Linked DNA regions of Homo sapiens: regions 2, 3, 4 and 5 are each linked to region 1. Evidence: promoter capture Hi-C in 16 types of primary human blood cells and fetal thymus (Javierre and others, 2016). All regions are on one chromosome and are shown on one strand. The core of a region is centred on a gene start or on the middle of the fragment in contact, and the rest is flanking DNA. Distances in the headings are between cores, read along the strand shown. Region 1 holds the start of NFE2 (nuclear factor, erythroid 2). Region 2 holds the start of SP1 (Sp1 transcription factor). Region 3 holds the start of MAP3K12 (mitogen-activated protein kinase kinase kinase 12). Region 4 holds the start of ATF7 (activating transcription factor 7). Region 5 has its middle 22 kb from the start of ATP5MC2.

Region 1 (2,785 bases), core at 198-2,697:
GGATCTTAGAGGAGAACTAGGCTATTGGTGGAGTCGTGGGGGACACTTAGAGGGCTCACAGCAGCTGCCTTTTATCAACTAGGACTGAACATTTTCATTATTTTAACAGCAAATACAATCCCATCAGAGCATGCTGGTTGAATGCCAGTCCTACTCCAGAGTGGCACCTATCTGCTTCCCCAGTCTTCAGATGTTTCTAATTTAACTTGAACATTGTAAGAAGAAAAAATGTAAGCTGCAGATGTCAGGATTGAAGCTAGACATATAGAGCTGAAAGCCATTACAAATTAGGAGGAAGAAAGGCTCTTTTCTCACAGTCTGTGGAGAAAGATGTTTGACCTGGGGCTTTGGTGGTGTAGCTTGCAGGCAAAAAGATGAATAAGTGGGCTGGGTGAGGTGGCTCATGCCTGTAATCCCAGCACTTTGGGAGGCCAAGAGGGGAGGATTGCTTGAGCCCAAGAATTCAATACCAGCCAAGGCAATATAGTGAGACACCACTTCTACCAAAAAAAAAAAAAAAAAAAAAAATTAGCTGGGCATGGTTGCACTGACCCATAGAACCAGCTACTTGGGAGGCTGAGGTGGGAGGATTGCTTAAGCCTGGGAGTTTGAGACTGTAGTGAAACATGTTCACACCACTGCACTCCAGCCTGGGAGACAGAGTGAGCCCCTCTCTGGAAAAAAAAAAAAAAAAAGATGAATAAGGGTACTTACTGGCCTAACAGAGTTGGGTGCCATGTGGCTGGGGTGCTTTGCCTGGGAGAAAGGAGGACAAAGGACACCTGGGGTCCCCTTTACGGGAGGTGAATAATCTCCCTGCTGGGTGGCCCCCCACCTAACTCCCTTCACACACTGACAAAAACCTGGCCAAGAAAGAATCCTTTGTCCTGGGACTTCTGAGGCTGAGGGGGGAGGGGAGAAGGCTACAGGTGAAAGGACACATCAAAGCAGTCAGTTGCCCCTCCTCCTCCAAATAGTTCCCCTGCCCTTGTTCCCAGAGCCCAGGTTTTCTGTAAATGAAGGCTATACCCTAAACGTCCAACTGCCTAGACAGCTGGGAAGCTAGACACCTGGTCCTTACCTTCAGCTGCCTTCCACCTTGATATGACTCAGTTTCCCTGTCCCTAGGAGAGCCGTGGGGACACAAGGCGACGACAACCTGTATAAAGTTTAAAGGTCACATTCGAGTGGACCATCAGGTTGGAATTCGTCAAATGCATGGGAGAAACGCAGACCTGGCTGGACTCCTGGGCTGAAAAGGAGGGCTGGGAGAGGCTTGGAGCCATGTGTGCCCCCGCTGGCCAGGAGCAAGGTGGGGGCGGGGTGTGGGCAGAAACCACATCGGGCTCAAGTTTCCTCTCTTGGCCGAAAGGGGCAGGAGGAGAGGAGAGCCACGGGGAAAGGGGAGGGTTGGAGGAAGGACTGAGAACTCAGGCCGAGGGCTTCAGACGCTGGTGCGCCTGCTTGGGGCTCCTGTGCTCAGCTCAGCCTGAGCTTCCACACTCAGCGCTCAGCAATGGCCCGGGGGCGGGGCGCGGTCCTCGCAGATTCTCAAAGGTAGCCGGGATCCTCGTCCAGCAGTGTCAGCTCAGGCTCAGCCTCCCCAGAGACAACACCGGGAGCCTCATCTCTCTCCTCACCCTGCTGTGACTCCACCACAGGTGCCTGAAAGGCAGGGTGTGTGTGGGGGGGGCGGATTCCAGTGAGATCCGAGGGGCAGGCTGGGGGGTGAAGGAGGTGAGGGGGGAAAATAACCAACTTTCGGTATCCTAGGAGACCTCAGACTTTCTAGATTGCCCCTGGTTTAGGAATCTGACATATTTGGGAACTCCTCTAGGAGAAGACCTAAGTGGTTTCTTGGGTGCTCTGGGATCCTTGGGGTGGAGGCTGTGAATGGGGATCAGAGAGGGGTCTCCAGAGGCAAGGCACCGCTGAGGGGCTGGGGAGTAGCCAGGAGGAATCCTTCAACTGGTGGGCTACCCTGAGGGAACCAATAGACTACCCTTTCCCCAACTCCATTCCATTACTCTGCCCTGTCTAGGCAGCTGAGAAGGTTTAGGGAAAGCTGAGGAATTGGAAACACTGGATATCTGAACCTCTGAGAAGTGTTGCAAGGTGCGGGGGTTGGATGGGAGATTGCCTCTGGGTTGTTGGCTCCTTTGCCCTTTCTCTTCTCTGTGCCCAGGGGCAGTAGAGATCAGCTGGACCTGGAGGGAGAAGGAAGACATCCCAACCCCAGCATAGTTGCTTCTAACTGGAACTCTTGGCTGCTTGGGAAATAGGGGCTTGGGAAGCAGTGGAAGAGAAGAGAGGAGGTATCAGAACTGCTGGGGCTGGGATCCCCTAGACATCGGTACCAAAGGACTGGAGTTTGGGGTCCAGGGATGAAGTGACACAATAGCAGAAACTCGTCCCCCTCTTCTTTGTTCTCACACATTTGTTTGAGTCATGCATGTCCCTAGGGCACTGAGCTCACTATGCTTAAATCTCTCTCCCTCCTTTTTTTCCCCTTCATTCTGTCTCATCTCTGTGTGTCTCTCTCTCTTCGGGAGTTCTCCCTAATCTTTCTAAATAGGTTGCTTACCGGTTAACCAATACCCCAAGTTTTACTAATCCCTCCTCATCCTTTCACTGCACCTATTGACACCTGGAGAGGTGAGGTGGTCAAATAAGCCTCAGAAAAGGGATCCTGAGGCAAGCCCCCTCTCATCGTTCCCCCTCGTTAAGGAAGTTAAGAGCCCTGGGGCAGCAGCTAAGGCCAAATGTATTCCTCTCTCCATCATCC
Region 2 (2,785 bases), core at 140-2,639, 920 kb after region 1:
TAACAGGAAGGCGAAAGCCACCAGTATAAAGAAAATGGATTGGAGGGCAGAGGGGAGCTGCAGGGCATGCAGGACATGAACTAGGTTCAATGTGCCAAAAGTGGGCCTTAATTCTCCCTTGTACAAAATTAAACTAAGAAAACATTCAAAAAGTGCTTTGGGGATAGGAAATGTGAAGGACGGTAGGCATGGTGAGAGTTTCTAAATAAGAAAAAGTATCCTAAGGGAAAAAAAGGAAAAGGACAGGTAAGGCATAAAACAACATGTGGGTGCATGGAAAGCTTGCTAAAATTAAGTTTAAAAGAGATGGAGAGGCCAGGCGCGGTGGTCACGCCTGTAATCCCATTACTTTGGGAGGCGGAGGCAGGCAGATCACCTGGGGTCGGGAGTTTTGAGACCAGCCTGACCAACATGGAGAAACCCTGTCTCTACTAAAAATACAAAATTAGCCGGGTGTGGTGGCGCATGCCTGTAATTCCAGCTACTCCCGGAGGCTGAGGCAGGAGAATCGCCTGAATCCGGGAGGCAGAGGTTGCAGTGAGCCGAGATCGCACCATTGCATTCCAGTCTGGGTAACAAGAGCGAAAACTCCGTCTCAAAAAAAAAAAAAAAAAAAAAGACAAACAAAAATCCAAGTGTGAAAAGTAACGAGAGGGGAAAAAGAAGTAAAAAGTGTGAGTAGAAAAACATTTGTGAATACTGCTAAGGAACTAAAGGGATCTACAGGTTAGTAGTCAGAAGGTTTCGGGGCGGAGGGCGGGCCCTGAGGGAAAGGGCGGTTTCGGGGTGAGGGGCGTGGAAAGGGCGGGACGGTGGGGGGCGGGGGGGAAGGGAAATCTACGGAAAGTGGGGGGAGGAGGGCCTTGGAGCAGGCGGCGACCAGAGGGCGGACCAGGCAGGCGGTTGGCCCGGGCGGGGCCTTCGCTGCTCGGGCCGCCCCCGCGGCTCCAGCCCCCGGCGGGAGGAGCCTCAGGCGGGCGGCCGAGTAGTGGGGGGTAAGGCCCGTCCCCCGTGGCCGGGGCGGGCAGGGGGCGGGCGAGGCCACGCTGCCCCCTCCCCCGGGGCGGGCGGCCCATCCCCCTCCTCCTCGGAGGCCCCGCCACTGCCCCGTCTCCCTCCCTTCCCTCCGCCCCGGGCGGGACCTAGGCCGCCGCCGCCGCCGCCTCCCGCCCGCCCCCGCTTCACGGCGGGGATCGCCCGGTCGGCCCTCGCGCGCGCCCCCTCACTCGCCTCCCACCCCTAAGCTTGGAGTGGACTCATCCTTACCGCTCATGGTGGCAGCTGAGGGACAAGCTCAAGGGGGTCCTGTCCGGGGGGGTTGGGGGGGGCCGGGAAAAACGCGGACGCTGACGAGGCAAGCGAACCCGGACCGGACAGGGAGGGGGGGGTAAGGAGGAGGGAGCAGCGCGCCACAAGCCCAACCTAGGCCCCGCCCCTTCTCTGCTGCCCCGCCCAATGAGGGAGGGGGAAAGGAGGGACTTGCAGAAGAAAGACGGTGGAATTATCCAATGGCAAGACTCGCTTGCTCTCCAAGGCGTGTGAGACTAAGTTGCGTGCCTGGTGTCCGCCTAAAAAGACCGCCCTCTCAGTGTTAAAAGCCAATGAAGGATGCAGGAAGTGAAGATGGGCGGGAGCTGGAGATGATTGGCTTGGAAGGAAACCAGTCAACCGGCAGGCGGGCTCCCTGAGACGTAGGGATAGGCAAAGCTTTGATAGGAATGACAGAACAACGGCCAACCAGAATCCGGGATATGCTTGGGCAAAATCCTAGTGGGCGGAGAGGTAAGAAGTAGGCAGGAATAGGAGAGGATGAAGCTGATTAAAACCAATCAGAAATCAGGCGGGCAGCCAGGAACGTTATGATTGGAGTTAGACTGAAAAGAGACAGGAAAGGACGCATATTGACGTGAACTAAAAGCCAATTAAACGCCGAATTAACTGAGGGCGGAAACTTGGAGTGGCAGAGGAGAATTGGCGGCTCCCTCAGTTATTCAATCCAATGAGGGGACGAAGTAGGCCTGGCACCGCCTCCTAGTTAGCCAATGGGCGTTACTGGAGCTGCCCATCATGAGGGAGGGAAGAGGGCTATGCCAAGAGGAGACCGTCGCCATATTGGCCCTCCTCAGGGGACGTTGTTACAGTCATTAGGTGGGACGCTTTAGCGGAGTCCTGCAGCTCAACAGGTGTCAGAGCCAAGGCATTCGGCGCGCAGTTCCGCATCAACACTAGGACTTGTTTGCGTCTTCATTTAACTGCCCCTATAAAGTACCTCTCAAATCTTACCCCCCTCCCGGGTGGTCGGACAGGCGGGCAGATGCCTCAATGTCGCTGCAAGCCCTGGGAATGCAGGCGGGACGAGATCTGGTGACAGCACTCACCGAATAAGTTAATACTGAGCTGACCAATATGCAGAGTCTCCGTGAGACTCCAGAAAACGCGATTTTATTAAGTTCCCCCAGACAAAGGCGCTAACCACTTAAACGACTGGTTAACTTTTCAAGCCTTGAGGCTAAAGTGCGGATAAGTCACTTCCATTTTTTCCCCCTTAATAGTAAATACCGCCTATGCATAAAGCAAGATAGCTGAGCTCCAGCTTTTTGCAATCACGAAGGTTAAGAAACTTTACTGCAGGCACCTGGATTTCTGGCCTCCTCTTTATCCGTGTTTTGGTGGAGCCGGCCTTAATAGCTTGTCAATGACACGATGAGGTCATGTCCTTCAGTATTTGTATCTTATATGTTGTCACCTGCTTATATGTTCTTATGTTTTAAAATGTGAATTCTCC
Region 3 (2,785 bases), core at 196-2,695, 800 kb after region 1:
GAAGCTTCATGGCGTCATTGGTTACTCCCATTGCGATTACTTCCCCTAGGTGCACTGAGATTGGTTACTTCGACTAAAGGGGCGGAGACAAGGAAAAGTCAGCCCCCCCCGACCCCGCCTCCTTGATGAAGGAAGGTTGTGATTGGTCCGGAGAGGCTGCCGTCGGATCCTGGCTCTTTGCGGTCTGGGAGGGTGGGCCTTACCTAGACGCCGGAGGGGACCGATCTCTGTTTCCGCAGGGCTCTGGAGCTGGTGCAGGTTTAAGTCCGTCTCAGACAGTCCCCTCAACCCACAGCCTAAGCCCCTTGCCCTTGGGCCTCCGTGACACAGAACTTGCTTCCTTTTCCTAGGTCGTCCTTCACCTCCCTTCAGGTGTTGCTTCTTTTGTGAAACCTTTTTAGAACCGCTCTAGTGAACCTCTCTTTAACTGGCGAGGAAACCTCTGGGGCCTGATAATCAGGCTGTAATGTGGGACGACAGGATTAGAAGGACTAGGCACCTTGGTGGTCTTGTTCCCTCTTCCATGAGTCTTGGGTCTCTCAGCTGAAGAGAGCAAAAGTGAATTTTGGCCGCCTAAGATTAATCAACTGATCTGGGTGTTGAGCAGACGCGCATTGTTTAGTCCTAGAGCCCCATTGCCTCCTCCCCCAAAGTTGCACAACCACTGGGCTGAGGGAAATCTTGTGACCTTGGAGAGAGAAAGGGAGAGACCACATTAAAAAAAAAAAAGGTTCTAATGAGTGTTCTGAGAAGGGGTCAAGAAAGATGTCTTACTCTGAGCCGGGGTTGGAGGTCCAGAGGAATCTTGAAATGATAATGAGGGGTCATCCAGGAACACTGGAGGAGGATGGGGCCTAGAGCCGAGTGAATTCCAAGTGGGTGAAATTGGAGTGAGTGGTGACAATCAAGGGAAGGAGAGCTGGCAAGATCGGTATGATAGGGGGAGCAATGCCAGAGCGCTAGGGATCCCAACTGAGGGGCTGCTCTCTCCGATGTAGAAAGGAGTCTATAAGACGGGTCATAGGGGGTTCCTGTGGAATCAGCCTGAGGCCTGAGGTGGGACCTCCATAGGACACCGCCAGCAGGGAGGCGCGGGGCCCAGGCGGGCCAGGTACGAGCCTGGAGCGCGCCGGATGGCAGCAGCGGGCTCCTTTAAGAGGCCGGCGGCTCCATCGCAGCATCCCCCGCTCAGGGCGTGTCCGTCCCGGGGGGCCAGGGGCGGGGGCCCTGGAAGGAGCGGGAGTTCAAGCCGAGCAGGGACGGGGCTAGGGGTCGGGGGGTGGGGGCAGAAAGCTGAAGCTGACACCCGTGCATCCGGACACCGCACGAGCATCGCCTGTGACAGCGCCCCGGGTCCGGTGGAGGGCAGCGGGGGGAGGAGGGAAGGAGGAGGAGAAGGAGGAGGAGGCGGGAGCAGCATCCGGAGCGGAGCTGCAGCAGCGCCGCCTTTTGTGCTGCGGCCGCGGAGCCCCCGAGGTGAGAGCCTGGCCGAGTTGTGGGGGGGTGGGGGGCAGGGATGGGTCTGGGTCCTGGGATCCGGGCGTGGAGGGAGGGTCGGGATGCAGATGTGGCCTGGTGCGGGGTGATGGCGTGGGGATGCTGAGGCTGTGGGGATGGAGGAACTGGGGACCTGGACCCGACGCCTGTGGGGCTGGGAAGGAAGGGAATGGAGCGGAGGGATGCCGCGGCCCAGCTTGGAGACGAAGGGCCTCCAGAGCTGGAAAGGACCGTATTGGGGTGGGGTGGAGGATGATTGGGGGACAGACTTAAAGGACAGAGGGCAAGAGAACATCTCCTCCCACTCATCCTCAGGAAGAGAGAGAGGGAAGGAGGAGGGAGAGTTTTGGCCCCCTCTAGGGAAGGAAAGGAAGGGCAAGGACTGATATACCCACCATCTCCACACACACACACACACACACACACACACACACACACACACACACACACACACACACACACACACACACACACACACACACACACACACACACACAGCAGGCTGGACCTGAAGATTAGTCAGAGAGCACCTGTTCCTGCATGCCCAGGCGTTGGTCCCCCTCCCCTTCAAGCTGTGATCCTCCTAATCCCCTCCAGCTGTGGCATTCACCTCCAGCTGTGGCATTCACCTCCATCCAGCTGTTGCATCCTCCCCTCCCCCATTCACGTGTGGGTTTCTCCCTCCTCTTTCTCTCCATCTCCTCTGGCTCCCCTAACCCATCTCCCCCAGTCAGGCCCTCCAAAAACCTCCTCCCTTTCCCACAAACACTCCTCAAACTCATTGGCTTAAAAATAAACAAGAGTTGAGACTTGCTGGTAACCAAGGCCTTGACTGAGAGGAGGGAAGAGTCAAGGCTCTGTAGACAGTGGGAGGAAACAGTGAGGTGTCCCTTAGAATTAAGGGAGGAGTCCTACCTTGTAGATGCTCATCTGCTGCCTTTTTCAGAGGAGCGTAGGTGAGTGGCCTCCAATCAGAAGGGAGTGCACATGAGGTCTCCTCACCCCACCCAGAGTCGTCTCAAGCCACAGTCAGTGCATCCCTCTAAACACATTTCCCTTGCAGTTCTCAAGGTGGACTCCATTGCTCTAGGAGCTCTGAGTTTCAGCCAGAGGGTCCTACCAAGCTAAGGCTAACAGAAAGGATTTAGGAAGGATAGGACTCAAGTGCCCCCTGAGCCTTCCTGTCCAGACACTGAAGTTTCTCTGAGCTTTAGGGCCCCACTCCCTCCTATCTCACACTTACAGGTGAAAAAAAGTGTGTCCCCTCAAGCGTATCATTCATCCACTC
Region 4 (2,785 bases), core at 140-2,639, 670 kb after region 1:
CTCAGAGGGTGCTGTGAGGATAGATGAGATGCTAGACAGAAAGTTCAGAAAGCTGAGTAACATAAAGCTGCAAAAGGAGAGAACAGAGATTCCATAGATAATATTTTAAGTCAACTACAATTCGTTAAATTTTAAGAAAATTATTTATTTTATTTATTTATCGAGACAGGGTTTCACTCTGTTGTCCAGGCTGGAGTGCAGTGGCCTGATGTGGGCTCACTGCCACCTCAACCTCCTGGGCTCAAGCGATCTTCCCACTTAGCCCCCCGAATAGCTACTACAGGTGCAGGCCACCATGCCCGGCTAATTTTATATTTTTTCGTAGAGCTGAGTTTTCGCCATGTTGCCCAGGCTGGTCTCAAATTCCTGGGCTCAGGCGATCCTCTTGCCTCGGCCTAGCAGTGTTGGGATTACAGACGTGAGCCACTGCACCCAGCCTGTTTTTTGTTTTTCTTTTTTCTTTTCCTGGTTTGTCTTGAACAAGACATATAAATGTAAGACTATAGACTTTGCATTTGATATTTCCCCCGAAATCTTCCCAGGTCATAATTCAACTCCTGGTGTGTTACTTCCTCAAAGAGGTCTTCTCTCAAACACTAGGAGTAAAGCTTCTTCCCCACTCCTAGTCACCTTCTGTCTCACTATCCTGAAGCGCTTTTCACTATTTGAAATATTTGTGTTTATTGGCTTTTTAACTGTCTCCCCTTCCTCACTCAAATATAAATTCTACCTGGGTTGGTAACTCCTTAACCCCATGCTTAGAACAATGCTTTGCACGGGGGGTATAGCTCAGGGATAGAGCATTCGACTGCAGAACAATGCTTTGCATGTAGTATGCCCTACGTTTTGTGAAAATATTTGCTGAATAATATAGTGATTTTAAAAAATCCCCAAGCAGTTTCATGTATCTCATTTGATCATTACAACTATTTGAATAAAATGAGATTGTTAGTCCCATTGTACAGAGACTCAGAGAAGGTTTTCACCCAAGGCAATAGGGCTAGTAAAATGGTAGTGTTAGAATTGCTGTGCGGGTGGATTGCTTTGTCCGTACATGGACTTCATTTCTAGCGCTAAGGGTATTTTAAATTACTTTGCCGTTAAGGAAGCGATGACTCTGAAAGATAGTAGTAACCACCACTACAGGCACCTGTAAAGATCCTCTCTCCTTTTTCCTTTCTTTCTCCCGCTAGATTCTGCAGCCGAACACGTGTGACCTGTGTGGACAGTACTCGCTCAGTCTCCCTCCCCAGCCCTGCCCACAGTAAGCCCGGCCCCTTCTTTTCCCGGAGCCCCCGCCTCTCGGCCGCTTTCCAACTCAGCCCCCACGGATCTCGCCCTTCCCCCGCGGACCCATGACTTCTCGCGAGAGTTGAGCGCGCCTGGCCGGACGGGAGGAAAGTATCCGTTCCGCCAAGGGGGGAAAGGAGGAGCTGGAGACAGATTGTAGGACCGAGCGCGGGCAGGCGGGAGGCAACGGAGCTACCAGCCGGTAAGTCCTTTTAACATTAGCTAGTCCATGATCTGACGGGAGTCTCCCTTTCAACTCTGGCCAGTCCCAGCGTTCCAGGCTGGGGTCTCCCCTCCCAGTCTGTGTTGGACGGGGGCGCTGAGGCGGTGGCCGGGCCCTGTCTGAGGAAGAGGGTGGGGCATAGGCCAAAGCCGACCAATGGGAGAGAAGGAAGCCTCGATTGGCGGCGATGAGCGCTAATGGGAGATCGCTTTTACGTTGCCGAGCGCCGCCCTTCTCTCCCTACTCCCGCCTCCTTCCTTTGGGGGGAAGGCGGGGCCAGAGGCTTGAAGTGTGGGGAGAACTTGGTGTAAGTAGCCCCGGGGGGCACAGGGCGTGGCAAGGAGAGGGGAATTGAATCCTGAGGGAAGGGTAGTCTAGTGGAGCCTAATGGAAGGATCATGGGATGGGGTGGAATGGGAGAAAGAGGAGGGATACTAAACTAAGTTAGAAACCCAGGGCTTCCCAAAGAGTGGGATTAGGAGCTTGGAATTGGAAAAGGGTAATAGGAAGGAGGTAGGAATGAGTAGATGAGAACAAAGATCTTGATCTGGTGACACAACACCCCGTTGGGTTTGGCAGAAAAGATAGATGGGGTGGATTATTGGAAATGAGGGTCATGGCATTTTGATTGAATTAATTAAAAGAACATCAGGGACATGATATCAGAGAGAAAGTATGGATTTGGAGAAAATTAAGTGAATTAATTTAAGAGGACAGTATGGGTGAGCTGAGTCGCCATAAGGCATGGCTTCTGGAAGGATATGAGCCTTGAGAGCGATAAGAGGTGTTTGGGAAGGAGATGGCTGATATACACATGTCTTTAGCCTAGGTATCAGGTGGTTGGGATATTGATTTAGGGCTTCTGGTGGATATGGCACCCAGACTGGTGACCAGCCTCCAAGATGCTGGGATGGGGGTTGAGAAGGAGAAAAATAGAACGCTTTCATCGCTTCTCTGATTTTCCTTCTCCCTCTCTTCTATTACCCAAACTCTTCCCAGACACCAGGATGTGGTCTTGGGACTTAAGCAGTCCAAGTTGGAGCCCCATAGGGACTTAATATGTTGCTCTGAATTGCTTGTTATGTTCTCTGACTGGGGTGTTTACAACCCAGGGCACCTCCTACCCAGATTCCCGCGTTGCTACTTTCCTAACTTTAAAAGTTTGTTTTCTGCTTAACAGAGGGTGTTTTAGTATCTCTGAGGGTCATGTCATATTAAGTACAGGTGTGTAGGGGGTGTGCAGAGTTTTCTCAGCAAGCTCACATGAGTCCT
Region 5 (2,785 bases), core at 173-2,672, 600 kb after region 1:
TGTTGACATATCAAGACTCCTCCACCTCCTTGCTTTCCTGTGTGCATCACAGTGTGTGCAGATCCATTTGTCCAACCAGCCCCACGTGAAGCCATGTGTGTCCAGCAGTCCCTCCTCCCAAGGAGGACTCTGTGAAGAGTCCTTGGCACCCTCCCCTCCTGGCCACCCCCACTCCCCACTTTCCATGCCAGGAGAGATCTAATTACACAGAAATTAGTACAGAAAAGGATCGTTTCCTTTTATTGCATCAGTACCGGGGCAGCTATAAATCTGGAGCCACCGCTGCAGCCGCCTCTGGGCACTGTGCAGGCTATGGGGGGCTCTCACCTCCACACCTTCCTTTTCTCCTGGGCCTCTACCCCTGCCCAGGACCTGAGAACTCTATTAGGTACCCATCTCAGTAGGGGAAGTGGAGAAAGGGGAGGGTGGGGTCAATCAAAAGAAGACACATAGTAGATGCTTAATAAATGTTCACTAAATGATTAGGGAGAGGTAGATCCCAGCAATGATAGTAACTACCCGACTACCTAGACCCAATCACCACGAGATAAATATTTCTAGTAAAATTTCTCTCAAAATTCTTAAGCTCTTACCAGACAGACTTCCTCACTTTCTTATGAACCCAGATGAATTATATGGAGCTATTAGTCATCCTGGCTTCTACTTTAGAGACCCTGAACTCCTTCTCAGGCAGCTTCAGGTGATGAAGACAGTCCAGGTTCAGATCTTGATTCTTCTGTTTACCACCTAATTGTCCTTGGGTATCTCCCAACCTGAGCTTTGGTTTCTTCTTCTGTGAAATGGAGGACATGAAACCTACCTCTCAGGTTGTTGTGAGGCATCAATGGGAAAGCACAATTAGTCGGGTGTGGTGGCATGCACCTGTGGATGCAGCTGCTCCAGGGACTGAGGCAGGAGGATTGCTTAAGCCCAGGAGGTCAAGGCTGCAGTGAGCCCTGATCCAGCCTGGGCAACAGAGTGAGACTCTATCTCAAATAAAATAAAATAAAATAAAATAAAATAAAATAAAATAAAATAAAATAAAATAAAATAAAATAAAATAAAATGGGAAAGCAGTAGACCAACAGGAAGGGGGTCCACTAATTTTTATTATCACTCTTAATGTCTTCCTAGCTACCACTTCCACTTCACCACCTTTACTTCTGCCTCCTCTTCCCCATCACCCTTTAACCTAGCCTATATGCCAACCAACCCCCACTCAAATAGGGGGCAATAAGATATGCAGGCAGGCTGTGCCCAACCTGGAATGAATGTTTCTATATGTTAGTGTCTTATCAGAAGACAGAGATGAGGCCAGGTGCGGTGGCTCATGCCTGTAATCCCAGCACTGTGGGAGGTCAAGGTGGGTGGATCACTTGAGGTCGGGAGTTCCAGACCAGCCTGGTCAACATGGTGAAACTCCGTCTCTACTAAAAATACACACATGGTGAAACCCCATCTCTACTAAAAATACACACACACACACACACACACACACACACACACACACATTAGTCGGGCATGGCGGCATGCATCTGTAATCCCAGCTACTCCAGGGGCTGAGGCAGGAGAATCGCTTGAACCTGGGAGACGGAGGTTGCAGTGAGCCGAGATTGCGCCACTGCACTCCAGACTGGGCGACAGAGCGAGACTCCATCTCAAAAAAAAAGAAGGAGGAGGAGGAGAAGAGGAAGAAGAAGAAGGAGAAGAAGAAGAAGATGAGGAGGAGGAGGAGGAAGAAGAAGAAGGAGAAGAAGAAGAAGAAGAAGAAGAAGAAGAAGAAGAAGAAGAAGAAGAAGAAGAAGAAGAAGAAGAAGAAGGAAGAAGAACAAGAACAAGAACAAGAACAAGAAGAACAAGAAGAACAAGAAGAAGAACAAGAAGAAGACAACAGAGATGAGGACAGGGGACTCCAACCATCCTCGGGCATCTGGAGGCAGTGTTTTACACATAGCCAACTGTCTCTAAGCTCATTCCTTGGCAGTAACTATTTTGATCTCCATTATTTGCATGGAGGGTGTAAATTAGCTCCTTGGAGTACTGGAGGGTCTGGTTGTAAATGACTGTGTAGAAAGAGTCCAGGATTTAGGGAATTAGGAGGGAGCAGGAGCTGGGGAATCAGGGTGGAGACTGGAGGCTTGAACTTATCCCGGAGCAAGGTCAAAGGGCCCTTTAGGGGATCGCAGAGACAGAAACCAAATGTCCGGGCTCCCAACTTCCTGCCAACCCAGTTTTCCAAACCCAAGGATTTGGGGTCTCCTCCCTCTTGCCCTCTCCTACACTGATGTCTCCAGCCCAAGGCACTCAGCCAGGAATTCTTGAATTTACTCCTATGTGGATAACCCTGAAGAGCTCTCAGTGTAGGTCAGCAAGTGAAGAGCCAGAGAAAGGAAGGGGTGTAACCCCCCACCACCCCACTGTGCTCAGATCTCCAAGCACCATTTGGGCAGGACCCCCTGCTCCCACACTTCAAGGGCAGGAGGAGCCGCAGAAGGAAGCTGAGGCCCTACGTCTGTTTCCAGCCTCTCACCCCCGATCTGCGTCTCAGGGAGGGTGAGGATTTGGCGTGAAGGGCACAGCGGCGTGGGGGGCGCGGATCTCTGGCCCCCATCTCCCCCCATCCCCAGCCCCGACTCAGGCTGCAGTCTCTCCTCGTTGTAGCAGCGCGAGAGCAAAGGGACGGGCAGTAAAGATGAGTGATGGCGCGGAGACAAGCAGAAATACACCATCATGAAAATGCTAATGACTCCTTGCTCTCTTTCTTTATGGTTGGAGTAATACAGAC

What was found. The method cuts DNA at HindIII sites, captures the fragments that hold promoters and counts their contacts. A CHiCAGO score of 5 or more calls a contact.
Region 2: a contact is called between the fragment with the promoter of SP1 here and the fragment with the promoter of NFE2 in region 1, in 2 of 17 cell types (erythroblasts and megakaryocytes). The highest score is 12.9, in erythroblasts.
Region 3: a contact is called between the fragment with the promoter of MAP3K12 here and the fragment with the promoter of NFE2 in region 1, in 3 of 17 cell types (erythroblasts, megakaryocytes and activated CD4 T cells). The highest score is 13.8, in erythroblasts.
Region 4: a contact is called between the fragment with the promoter of ATF7 here and the fragment with the promoter of NFE2 in region 1, in 8 of 17 cell types (erythroblasts, neutrophils, naive CD8 T cells and 5 more). The highest score is 12.5, in erythroblasts.
Region 5: a contact is called between a fragment that was not itself captured here and the fragment with the promoter of NFE2 in region 1, in 3 of 17 cell types (naive B cells, non-activated CD4 T cells and M2 macrophages). The highest score is 10.7, in naive B cells.

Annotation. Positions count from the first base shown.
Region 1 is chr12:54,299,677-54,302,461 of GRCh38, reverse strand. NFE2 (nuclear factor, erythroid 2) reads left to right here and starts at 1,447. Exons shown (of 3, transcript NM_001136023.3): 1 at 1,447-1,661. RefSeq lists an enhancer at 560-1,300 and a cis regulatory region at 701-1,675. The HindIII fragment of the contact is 10,882 bases long and covers 1-2,785 here.
Region 2 is chr12:53,378,780-53,381,564 of GRCh38, reverse strand. SP1 (Sp1 transcription factor) reads right to left here and starts at 1,389. Exons shown (of 6, transcript NM_138473.3): 1 at 1,267-1,389. The coding sequence starts at 1,273. RefSeq lists enhancers at 1-615, 1,466-1,760, 1,593-1,892, 1,796-2,296 and a silencer at 723-1,352. The HindIII fragment of the contact is 463 bases long and covers 1,247-1,709 here.
Region 3 is chr12:53,498,118-53,500,902 of GRCh38, reverse strand. It overlaps MAP3K12 (mitogen-activated protein kinase kinase kinase 12), which reads left to right and starts at 1,445. Exons shown (of 14, transcript NM_001193511.2): 1 at 1,445-1,476. RefSeq lists a silencer at 1,079-1,328. The HindIII fragment of the contact is 6,087 bases long and covers 7-2,785 here.
Region 4 is chr12:53,624,986-53,627,770 of GRCh38, reverse strand. ATF7 (activating transcription factor 7) reads left to right here and starts at 1,389. Exons shown (of 12, transcript NM_006856.3): 1 at 1,389-1,492. It overlaps ATF7-NPFF (ATF7-NPFF readthrough), which reads left to right and starts at 1,389. Exons shown (of 15, transcript NR_159377.1): 1 at 1,389-1,492. RefSeq lists an enhancer at 1,463-1,532. The HindIII fragment of the contact is 3,816 bases long and covers 611-2,785 here.
Region 5 is chr12:53,697,187-53,699,971 of GRCh38, reverse strand. No RefSeq gene overlaps it. Among named protein-coding and RNA genes, the nearest start is that of ATP5MC2, 22 kb to the right of the region's middle. The HindIII fragment of the contact is 7,437 bases long and covers 1-2,785 here.